3 separate regions of the Homo sapiens genome follow, and all the other regions are linked to region 2. Evidence: promoter capture Hi-C in human tissues and cell types (Jung and others, 2019). All regions are on one chromosome and are shown on one strand. The core of a region is centred on a gene start or on the middle of the fragment in contact, and the rest is flanking DNA. Distances in the headings are between cores, read along the strand shown. Region 1 overlaps FGF23 (fibroblast growth factor 23). Region 2 holds the start of FGF6 (fibroblast growth factor 6). Region 3 overlaps FERRY3 (FERRY endosomal RAB5 effector complex subunit 3).

Region 1 (3,926 bases), core at 710-3,209, 76 kb after region 2:
AGCATTTTCACTTGGAAAAAGCGAAGTGGAATAGACCACGTGACCTGTGGAGCTCCCTCCAGTTAAAGATTTTTAATTAATAACCCCTGCCCCAATTGTGATAGCTATTCATTCGGATTGGTAAGCAAAGGATTTCCCAAACTAAAGGCTGCTGGCCTCTTTTGGAGGATTTTGAGATAGTAAAATAGTAGGACTGCTTATCTCAGGAGTCTCTGACCACCACACATGCCCACTAGAAACTCCACAAGAACAGAGACTTTCTGTTTTGCTTTCTGCTGCATCCCAGCCCCTACAATAGTGTCTGGCTAGAGTAGGTAAACAAACAAACAAAAAATCTGTTGAACCACTATTGAAATATAGATAACTAACTAAACATCCGTTAACCCCTCTAGGCATGTAGATAGTCCTGATCTGTAAACTGCTTACTTTGTGGAGCTTGAGGATTAAAAGAAATAACAGGCAAAGGCCTTCGTGGGGCACTCAGTAAAACCCAGTACTAGTGGTAGAGGATTCAAACCCAGCTCATCTGTCAGCAAAGTTCATGTCTCCAATCCCGTCAGTGCTCTCATTCATGTTTGACCCTATAAACTCCATCCCCTCTCCTTTCTCCAGTAAAGAGACAAACCCAAGCCAATTTTCAGCCAGCAGAGGCTTGGAAAAGATAGAGGGCAGGAAGGACAAGGTGGTGCCTACTCCAGGAAAACCACAGGCCAGGCCAGCCCGGGCCTCCAGGCAGTAAGCGGAGGCCCCAGTAGTCGTAGTCTCTGAAAGGGCGAACTATATAGTCAGGGCTTGAGCATTAATCAAAACCACTCTACCCCAGCAGGGAACAAAGGGGTGAAGGCTCAACGCCCTAAGAACTGCAGAGCTTCAGGCCGGCTGGCACAAGCATGTGGCCCCAGGAGGAGCTGGGGAGTGGGTGGGGCCCCCACTGCCAGCCTTCACGTGGTTCGCTCTTGTCCTTCCAGCACTATTTCGACCCGGAGAACTGCAGGTTCCAACACCAGACGCTGGAAAACGGGTACGACGTCTACCACTCTCCTCAGTATCACTTCCTGGTCAGTCTGGGCCGGGCGAAGAGAGCCTTCCTGCCAGGCATGAACCCACCCCCGTACTCCCAGTTCCTGTCCCGGAGGAACGAGATCCCCCTAATTCACTTCAACACCCCCATACCACGGCGGCACACCCGGAGCGCCGAGGACGACTCGGAGCGGGACCCCCTGAACGTGCTGAAGCCCCGGGCCCGGATGACCCCGGCCCCGGCCTCCTGTTCACAGGAGCTCCCGAGCGCCGAGGACAACAGCCCGATGGCCAGTGACCCATTAGGGGTGGTCAGGGGCGGTCGAGTGAACACGCACGCTGGGGGAACGGGCCCGGAAGGCTGCCGCCCCTTCGCCAAGTTCATCTAGGGTCGCTGGAAGGGCACCCTCTTTAACCCATCCCTCAGCAAACGCAGCTCTTCCCAAGGACCAGGTCCCTTGACGTTCCGAGGATGGGAAAGGTGACAGGGGCATGTATGGAATTTGCTGCTTCTCTGGGGTCCCTTCCACAGGAGGTCCTGTGAGAACCAACCTTTGAGGCCCAAGTCATGGGGTTTCACCGCCTTCCTCACTCCATATAGAACACCTTTCCCAATAGGAAACCCCAACAGGTAAACTAGAAATTTCCCCTTCATGAAGGTAGAGAGAAGGGGTCTCTCCCAACATATTTCTCTTCCTTGTGCCTCTCCTCTTTATCACTTTTAAGCATAAAAAAAAAAAAAAAAAAAAAAAAAAAAAAAAGCAGTGGGTTCCTGAGCTCAAGACTTTGAAGGTGTAGGGAAGAGGAAATCGGAGATCCCAGAAGCTTCTCCACTGCCCTATGCATTTATGTTAGATGCCCCGATCCCACTGGCATTTGAGTGTGCAAACCTTGACATTAACAGCTGAATGGGGCAAGTTGATGAAAACACTACTTTCAAGCCTTCGTTCTTCCTTGAGCATCTCTGGGGAAGAGCTGTCAAAAGACTGGTGGTAGGCTGGTGAAAACTTGACAGCTAGACTTGATGCTTGCTGAAATGAGGCAGGAATCATAATAGAAAACTCAGCCTCCCTACAGGGTGAGCACCTTCTGTCTCGCTGTCTCCCTCTGTGCAGCCACAGCCAGAGGGCCCAGAATGGCCCCACTCTGTTCCCAAGCAGTTCATGATACAGCCTCACCTTTTGGCCCCATCTCTGGTTTTTGAAAATTTGGTCTAAGGAATAAATAGCTTTTACACTGGCTCACGAAAATCTGCCCTGCTAGAATTTGCTTTTCAAAATGGAAATAAATTCCAACTCTCCTAAGAGGCATTTAATTAAGGCTCTACTTCCAGGTTGAGTAGGAATCCATTCTGAACAAACTACAAAAATGTGACTGGGAAGGGGGCTTTGAGAGACTGGGACTGCTCTGGGTTAGGTTTTCTGTGGACTGAAAAATCGTGTCCTTTTCTCTAAATGAAGTGGCATCAAGGACTCAGGGGGAAAGAAATCAGGGGACATGTTATAGAAGTTATGAAAAGACAACCACATGGTCAGGCTCTTGTCTGTGGTCTCTAGGGCTCTGCAGCAGCAGTGGCTCTTCGATTAGTTAAAACTCTCCTAGGCTGACACATCTGGGTCTCAATCCCCTTGGAAATTCTTGGTGCATTAAATGAAGCCTTACCCCATTACTGCGGTTCTTCCTGTAAGGGGGCTCCATTTTCCTCCCTCTCTTTAAATGACCACCTAAAGGACAGTATATTAACAAGCAAAGTCGATTCAACAACAGCTTCTTCCCAGTCACTTTTTTTTTTCTCACTGCCATCACATACTAACCTTATACTTTGATCTATTCTTTTTGGTTATGAGAGAAATGTTGGGCAACTGTTTTTACCTGATGGTTTTAAGCTGAACTTGAAGGACTGGTTCCTATTCTGAAACAGTAAAACTATGTATAATAGTATATAGCCATGCATGGCAAATATTTTAATATTTCTGTTTTCATTTCCTGTTGGAAATATTATCCTGCATAATAGCTATTGGAGGCTCCTCAGTGAAAGATCCCAAAAGGATTTTGGTGGAAAACTAGTTGTAATCTCACAAACTCAACACTACCATCAGGGGTTTTCTTTATGGCAAAGCCAAAATAGCTCCTACAATTTCTTATATCCCTCGTCATGTGGCAGTATTTATTTATTTATTTGGAAGTTTGCCTATCCTTCTATATTTATAGATATTTATAAAAATGTAACCCCTTTTTCCTTTCTTCTGTTTAAAATAAAAATAAAATTTATCTCAGCTTCTGTTAGCTTATCCTCTTTGTAGTACTACTTAAAAGCATGTCGGAATATAAGAATAAAAAGGATTATGGGAGGGGAACATTAGGGAAATCCAGAGAAGGCAAAATTGAAAAAAAGATTTTAGAATTTTAAAATTTTCAAAGATTTCTTCCATTCATAAGGAGACTCAATGATTTTAATTGATCTAGACAGAATTATTTAAGTTTTATCAATATTGGATTTCTGGTCATTCTAACCCTAAAGTGTTTTCTTTCTTTCTTTCTTTCTTTTTTTTTTTTTTAAGATGGAGTCTTGCTCTGTCACCCAGGCTGGAGTGCAGTGGCGCGATCTCGGCTCACTGCAACCTCTGCCTCCCAGGTTCAAGCGATTCTCCTGCCTCAGCCTTCCAAGTAGCTGGGATTACAGGCACCTGCCACTGCGCCTGGCTAATTTTTGTAATTTTAGTAGAGACAGGGTTTCACCATCTTGGCCAGGCTGGTCTCGAACTCCTGACCTCGTGATCCACCCACCTCAGACTCCCAAAGTGCTGGGATTACAGGCATGAGCCACCGCACCCAGCCGTGTTTTCTTTAAAGAGGGAATTTTTATTTGGAAAATACACACCATCACAACCACGTCAGTATCTCAG
Region 2 (3,880 bases), core at 1,154-3,653:
TGAGATTCAAATCCAGGTGTCCCCATTCCAAAGCCCATTGCTTTATGAGACATCAACCAGAACCTCTGCACAGAGAGGAATCCAGGAAGAGATGAATCTAAGGAGCGTTACCATTTTTATTGGTATATGACATGGACCTTGTTATAGTTTAATCTCTCTCCTAAGGCAGTCCCAAAGTGGATGGGTTCCAAGAAATTCCACAGAGATTCTGAGCTCTGCTGGTGAGCACCTCTCCGATTATCCAAGGCAAGTGTTAACTTCAGACTGACTTCTCCTTACCATCCAACATGTTTCTGGACTGTCTCTTCCCTAAGTGAGGACCACCAGCATAATTAACACAAGATTCCAAACAACATCACTGAGAAAGTGTCCCCACTGCTCTTGCATCCATGAAAGCTTAACTATATGAAACCCAGCTGGAAATCCAAAGTGAAGTTCTTTTTGTTGACAACTTTGTCTTCGGATTATTCATGAACCTTTTACTTTGCAGAAGGATTTTTAAAAACAGTTTTCCAACAAAGGCCTACATAGTAGACTCAATCTGAGCCTATAAGGCATCATCTTTCCTCATGGGAAATGGCAGTGCTGGTGATGATGAGATTGGGTATGGGACAACGGCAGTGGAAGGGAGAGGAAGCCAATGGGGAAGTCAGGGGGCCGTGGTGACAGTAGGAACAAGTGGTGCCTATGTCCCTCCCCATTCAGTTTACCAGCTGAGGGTAAAGACAGACATCTGGGCTTCACAGGATTTCAGAAGGCATGTCTAGGGCAACACTAAACACATGGCTTGACAGAAATTTGAACCAAAGCATCGAACCCAGTGAACGAGGCAGAAGGGCAGAGAGAAGGCAGGTAGAAGCCACAGACCAGAGGCTGGGACCCAGGGCACAGCAGAAGGTTTAGAATCAGAGGGAAGGCGGTGGTGCCTCAGTAGAGTCCTTGGGCCATGGAACTCACCCCAGGAGCTTTTCCAGGCTGCCTGCAGCCTGCAATGTGGGTGTAGAGTGTGGCTAAGGGAGCTGCCTGCTGGGACCAGCTCTACTGCTCAGGACACTCAAATCCATCTGTATGCCACTGTCATCACCCCACACATACTCTCTCCAATCCCGGCAAAATCAGTGCTAATGTCTCACCAACAGATTAAGGCCTGGATTGAAGTACAAGAAACAGGATTTTTAACTCAAGTTAATTCAATTCCCCAGCGACCCTTGTTAACTTATTCACCCTCAGAGACGTATTAATAGTTCTGTCTTATATTGTATAGAAATTTGTGCAGTGAGTTTTCTGGTAGCTTTACATTTTTTTTCTCACTTCAGTTAGACATGTAATCTATTTAAAAGTAATATGGGAATAAGATAAATCAGTGTAGGAATAACTTCCTGGCAGAAATATTTTTACTAGTTTCTGAGTGTAATATCAGCCCAGCAAAAGTTATCTGCAAATATAGAAGTTCTCATGTACATCAAAGACACTCAAGTTTTTTTTAAGAAATAAATCATTTTATGCTACTGAAATAACTCTGTGATGTGCTATTGGCATTTAAGGAGCTAAACAGACTCTATGGGCCAGCCAACTTCTACTGCAAGCATTAGACATGCACAGGCTTTAGACTCAGGCACACCTTAGAAGTTCTGGCTTTGCTACTTATTAGCTATGGTAACTCGGGCAGGTCATTTATCCTCTCTAAGCCTCAACTTCCTCATCTGTGAAATGGGAATAATATCAGTCACATGCCAGGGATAAATCCAGGGAGAATGGCCAGGGGGCTGTGTCAAAGGCCAGACACAACTTCCACCCCAGGTGAATGTCGGGACCAGGACAGTGAGCAGGCAAACCTTGCCCTTGCCCTCCTTCCCTCCACAATCTTAAAGCTCCTTGAACAACCCCCATCCCCACCCCCTGAGAATGTCTGTGCCCTCCTGCTGAAAGGGTTTGGCCTTTCAGTGTTCCCCTCCACCATGAGCTGTTTCCATGAAAAGATCTCAAGGGTGACTTGAGGCTACGGTCATCACTACCACAAGCCTTTTCCCATCCCTGCCTCTACCTATTGCCCTCTAAATAAGGAAGCCAGCGCTGCCAGGCAAAGAACTTCTGCCCAATATGGGTCCTGGGTGGCCTCTCGCCTCTCTCTTTCCCTGGGCCCCCAGCCAGCTCCCCCCTCCCCCAGAGATGCTCCCTGCTCACTTCATTCCTGCCTCATAGTTGGAATGACAGTGGCTCCCAGAACCCCTGGGGAGTGTGGAGGGTGATGGGGGTCTGGGGAGGCAGCCAGGCCCAAGAGCAGGTTAATGTTACAGCCCTGGATAAGTGAGCTGGGCGGGTTGACGTCAGGGCGATGATGGGTGGAGGGGAGGGCCGGGCTGCTGAAGCAACTATAAAGATAGGTCAAATCAAATATCATCAACTAGGGACGGAGCAAGCGGGCGAGCTAGAGAGCGTCCCCGAGCCATGGTCTCTACCGGCCGCGGCTCAGCCTGGGTCCCTCTGCTCTCAACCCGAGTGCCCGATGGAGGCTTTGGTTTCATGTCAGCAGCCTTCATCTGCCTTCCAAAAATAAGCCCCTGCCGCCATGCCGGAGGGAGAAAAACAAGAAGGGCGGTATTTTTAGGGCCATTAATTCTGACCACGTGCCTGAGAGGCAAGGTGGATGGCCCTGGGACAGAAACTGTTCATCACTATGTCCCGGGGAGCAGGACGTCTGCAGGGCACGCTGTGGGCTCTCGTCTTCCTAGGCATCCTAGTGGGCATGGTGGTGCCCTCGCCTGCAGGCACCCGTGCCAACAACACGCTGCTGGACTCGAGGGGCTGGGGCACCCTGCTGTCCAGGTCTCGCGCCGGGCTAGCTGGAGAGATTGCCGGGGTGAACTGGGAAAGTGGCTATTTGGTGGGGATCAAGCGGCAGCGGAGGCTCTACTGCAACGTGGGCATCGGCTTTCACCTCCAGGTGCTCCCCGACGGCCGGATCAGCGGGACCCACGAGGAGAACCCCTACAGTGAGTGCCAGCTGCAGCCAGTCGGGACGCTTGGGGGTTTGGGCTCATGCAGGGCTAAAAGGTGAAGGGGCCCTGCTCTAGCGGACAGGATGCACGATAAAGGGGGCAGAAATGCTGCTCACCACTTAGATGATTCCACGTGACCCTGCCTGGGTGCAAGCTCAATATACTGCGGTCCAAGCATCCTGGTGTTCTTTGCCATCGCCTTGGTTAGATCCTCAGTGGCACTAACTATTTCAGCATTACTGGCCCATCTGATGCCTTGTAAGACCATTAGGAACCATTAGTCTGGGAAGCCCCCAAGGCCTGGGTAGGGAGAATCAGTTAGTATACTTGGATCAAATTTGACACAAGCTCATTTTTATTCAGCTTCTTTCTTGGAGAAGGAAGGGAAATTCAATTGCAAAATGTCCAACTGAAGCACATCCTTCTTTTTATTTCAGCGGCTCCCTCTGTCCCCAGGTTCTTATCCTGCAAGCTGCCTGCAAGCTGCCAGCTTGCTGTATGGTTAGTCTCCTATCCAAGAAAGGATGGGGGCTGCAGGATCCAAGAAAGCCATCAGCTATGGTGTGGCTGCTGTGTTTTCAAGATTAAGTGGGTTGAGATTTGTTGAAACATGTAGAGTACACATTAAGAAGAAGAAGAAGAATCAGAATTTATTTTTTTACTCAAGTCAAGGACCTCAAGTAATTATGTCACTGAAAGCCCAGATTCAAAGCTCATCTTAAACAGATAGCTAAGTGGTCACTGCAGCCCCTAACTCTGCTATCAGAACCTTCCCTTGCAGAACTGGATTTCTAACAGCACAATGGCAGCACTCGATGAGTCCAGCAGCCAGGGTCTCCTAGAGTTAGAGGGATCATGGATGGGGCAATGGAGAGTCTGGC
Region 3 (3,655 bases), core at 202-2,701, 88 kb before region 2:
GTAACAATGTACCCTTTAAAGTTACATGGAAAACTCTTTTTAATGTAAATACAGTAATGTTCAGACCTTCAAAATCTGTAGCATTTTCTTTATGTCCTTATACCCACTTGGCTTCAAACTGAAATATCAGGCTTAAGAAAGTAACATTACTTTATTAGTATCAAGGGAATACGTAAGAGTTAAGACTTTTGACCTTTCTCTATGCAATAGCCTGTAATAGTAAAGGAAAATAATCATGAAATTAGTTAAATGATCCCCTAAGCTGATTTCATTTTAGTTGGAGATTCTATTAAGAGTATCAGCTTGATAAAATAAAATTTCATGTCTGGGCAAGGTGGCTCACACCTGTAATCCCAGCACTTTGGGAGGCTAAGGCAGGTGAATCACTTGAGCTGACGAGTTCAAGACCAGCCTGGGCAACATGGTGAGACCTATCTTTACCAAAAATACAAAAATTAGCCATGCATGGTGGCATGCACCTGTGGTCCCAGCTACTCGGGAGGCTGAGGTGGGAGGATCACTGGAGTCCGGGAATTCAGGGCTGCAGTGAACTGTGATCATGCCACTGCACTCCAGCCTGTGTAACAGAGAGAGAGACCCCATCTCTAAATAAAAAATAAAAATTTAACAATAAGATTTCACATTGGAATTCTCAGCCAAGTAAAATGTTCCCTATTTATACCTGGATTTTGCTGACGATGGTGTTTGATGTCCCTGTAACAGACTTAAAAGAAGCTCTGACTCAGTTTATAGAAGAAGAATCCCTCAGCGATTATGATAGAGATGCTGAAGCATCCCTGGCAGCTGTGAAATCAGGTGAAGTAGATTTACATCAGCTGGCGAGTACATGGGCCAAAGCTTATGCTGAGGTAAGAAAATAGGTCAGATTGTAAATTTCAAGGATATTCTGGATTTTGGTGAAAATTTTTAAAATGCTGTGGTAATCCTGAAATCGTTATAAGATCCTTTTTCTCCACATACAATATTCTATAATGTATATGTTGCTGCTTCTGTGCTTCCTATATCAGGGTGAGCACATAAGACAAAATGCTATTTATGTAATACCTTTGTAAAACAAGAGGCTACTTGCATATATCTCACCAGCACAGGGTCTCCAGATTTAGTAATTAAAAATATAGGACACCCAGTTAAGTTAGAATTTCAGATAAATGAATATTTTTTAGTATATCAACATATTACATGGAACATATTTATACTAAAAAAAATTGTTCACTATTTATCTGAAATTCTAATTTAAGTGAGTGTTCTGTGTTTTATCTGGCAACCCTAAATCAGCAACAGCATTCATGTAACCTTTGGTTTACTTTTATAAACTTATCTTCATTATTGTTGTGTAGTCACATCATATCATTTTCTATTTAAATAATATACCCTGTTTCATAAAGTCTAAGATGCCATTAGGTATATCACAAATGATTTTATTTACTAAGAAAGAGCACTGCAAATTAAACTATGAGAGAATGCCAAGATGACATCAAGTATAAGAGGCAAAGAAAAGACTCAAAAATATCCATTGTATTTATCAAGTAATCTTGTCTGTGGCAAGATCAGTTTCGGTAAGTTGGTGGTGGTGGAAATGAGATTTCACTGACTCTAAGCATGTGGGAGTGTGGAAATAGGAAGAATTAGTATACTAACTGAAGAAGTTCGAATATAAAGAGGTGAAGGATGGGGCACTGGCTAAATGGGAACACAAGGTCAGAGGTTTGTTTGTTTGTTTTTTAAGGCGGCAAAGTTTAGGACTAGAAGGGATAGAATCCAGAACTCAAATGGAGAATTAATCATAACTGGGAAGACAGATGCTTCTCCACTTACAGCCAAAGAGAAGCAGGAAAGGTTGGATATAAATTCAGATAATTTTATTAATTTGGTAGCAGGAAGTTGAGAATATTCTCTTCTGAGTGTTTCAACTTTAAGGAAAGACAGGTTATTTGTTTAGATGAGGCAGTAGGTATAAAAAGATTGTTGGATATTTAAGGAGAAAACCGAGCAGCGAATGATAGGATTGCCAGGCATCATTGAGGCCAAGATTAAGAGTGGCACCAGTTTGTCACCATAAACTTTATAGAGTTTTGTGATTTTTCTGCTACAGCTCTCTAAAGCCCGACTGCAGGCATAGAGAAGAGGAATAAGATGAGGGTTTTGTTAGGTGGGTAATATAAGGTACATCAGTCAAGGGAGTTGAGGATATCGGCAAGACAGTGGTTGAATGCTAGATCACAAAATGTAAGCTACATAGGGAAAGAAGTGAAGCTAAGTGGCAGTTGATGGCTGATTTAAAAAAAAATGAAAACATTGAGAAACTTATGAAGTGGAGGTCCTGATGAGGTTAAATATCAATTACCTGGGGATTATTGAGCGAGAAATCTTGGGTGGAGGTTGTAGTCAGAGACTAGAATGTTTGAATACTGACGGACTGAGTTTCTGGTGAGGATACTAAATGGATGGCTGAGGTGGTGTGGAGAACTAGTAAATGTTGCAGGTAAACGATGACTATCTGGGCTGGTGGTACAGGGGTAAAAGAATTTACCAAGACAGTTGTAGATAAAGAAAGGTAGGTTTATTAGAGAAAGTAGGAAAATATGTTGCGAGGAGGCAATGGGCAGGCCAACAGAAGAGAAGCTGACTTCAAGGAAACAAAGGCTTGCTGGAGATTTTATAGGACAGCGTTTATGCTGTATGCTGTACAGTGCTGTGTGCAGTACTGATAACCCCAAGACTGCAGTGAGCTGCAGTCTTGCAGCTATCTTGCAGGTGTCTGGTGAAAGGTGAGTGCAGGAGGGCTACGTGGCCTGGACCAGGGGTGTCCAATCTTTTGGCTTCCCTGGGCCACACTGGAAGAAGAATTGTCTTCGGCCACACATAAAATACATTAACATGAGGGATAGCTGATGAGCTAAAAAAAAAAAAAAAAAAAAATTCACAATTTATGAATTTGTGTTGGGCGGCATTCAAAGCCATCCTGTGCCACAGGTTGGACAAGCTTGGTCTGGACCATGAGGAAAGGCAGACTTATAGCTTATCTGCTTTCTCTTTTTGCTTTCCCCTGGTCCTGCCAGCCTGATTCCTTTTCCCTAATTGGGACTCCACAGTAAAGATTGTAGAGTTCGGGAAAGTAAGAAGGCAGTGCCTTGGATGGGTTTCCACATGGATATCCAAGTAACCCAGGTTGATGGCAGGATGTGGGGCAGAGAGGAATTCTTTGAACTTGGTGCCAAAGCTTTACAGGAATGAGGGTGAGTGACAGACAGGTAGGTTGTTAGATAATGATGGCCATGAAAGATAAGGGGTGCTGAATGGTTTGAACCTCAAAGAAGTCAGGCGTTATGCCTGAAAGTGGAGGTGGAGAAATAATGGCCTGGACATTGAATCGCTTTCTCTCTGCAGTCACTTCCTCAGTGCCCCATTCCTCTCAGCCGTCCCAGTCCCCTTTCTAGTAGCATCTGTCCTGAGGGAGTGGCGTAAATTAGGTCAAGGAAAAACCTATGCTTAGTTCTTCTCACGTAGGTATCTTCTACCTATTCATAAAGCTTCCCCTAGGCTGAGTTTAAAATTAATGCTGCAGATTTTTGTAGTTAGATGATCTGGTAGTGGGGCTACTGAACATCTGGTGTTGTGTGTGGCCAAGCACATC

The links. The method cuts DNA at HindIII sites, captures the fragments that hold promoters and counts their contacts. A contact is called where the count stands out against the background at its distance.
Region 1: a fragment that was not itself captured here is called in contact with the fragment with the promoter of FGF6 in region 2 in 2 of the 25 tissues and cell types used here (mesenchymal stem cells and mesendoderm cells).
Region 3: a contact is called between a fragment that was not itself captured here and the fragment with the promoter of FGF6 in region 2, in 2 of the 25 tissues and cell types used here (lymphoblastoid cells and mesendoderm cells).

The regions. Positions count from the first base shown.
Region 1 is chr12:4,367,826-4,371,751 of GRCh38, reverse strand. It overlaps FGF23 (fibroblast growth factor 23), which reads left to right. Exons shown (of 3, transcript NM_020638.3): 3 at 969-3,525. The coding sequence ends at 1,409. Among named protein-coding and RNA genes, the nearest start is that of FGF23, 9.9 kb to the left of the region's middle. The HindIII fragment of the contact is 4,544 bases long and covers 1-3,926 here.
Region 2 is chr12:4,444,338-4,448,217 of GRCh38, reverse strand. It overlaps FGF6 (fibroblast growth factor 6), which reads left to right and starts at 2,403. Exons shown (of 3, transcript NM_020996.3): 1 at 2,403-2,993. The coding sequence starts at 2,648. The HindIII fragment of the contact is 16,147 bases long and covers 1-3,880 here.
Region 3 is chr12:4,531,371-4,535,025 of GRCh38, reverse strand. It overlaps FERRY3 (FERRY endosomal RAB5 effector complex subunit 3), which reads left to right. Exons shown (of 14, transcript NM_020374.4): 3 at 724-869. Among named protein-coding and RNA genes, the nearest start is that of FERRY3, 5.3 kb to the left of the region's middle. The HindIII fragment of the contact is 5,337 bases long and covers 1-3,655 here.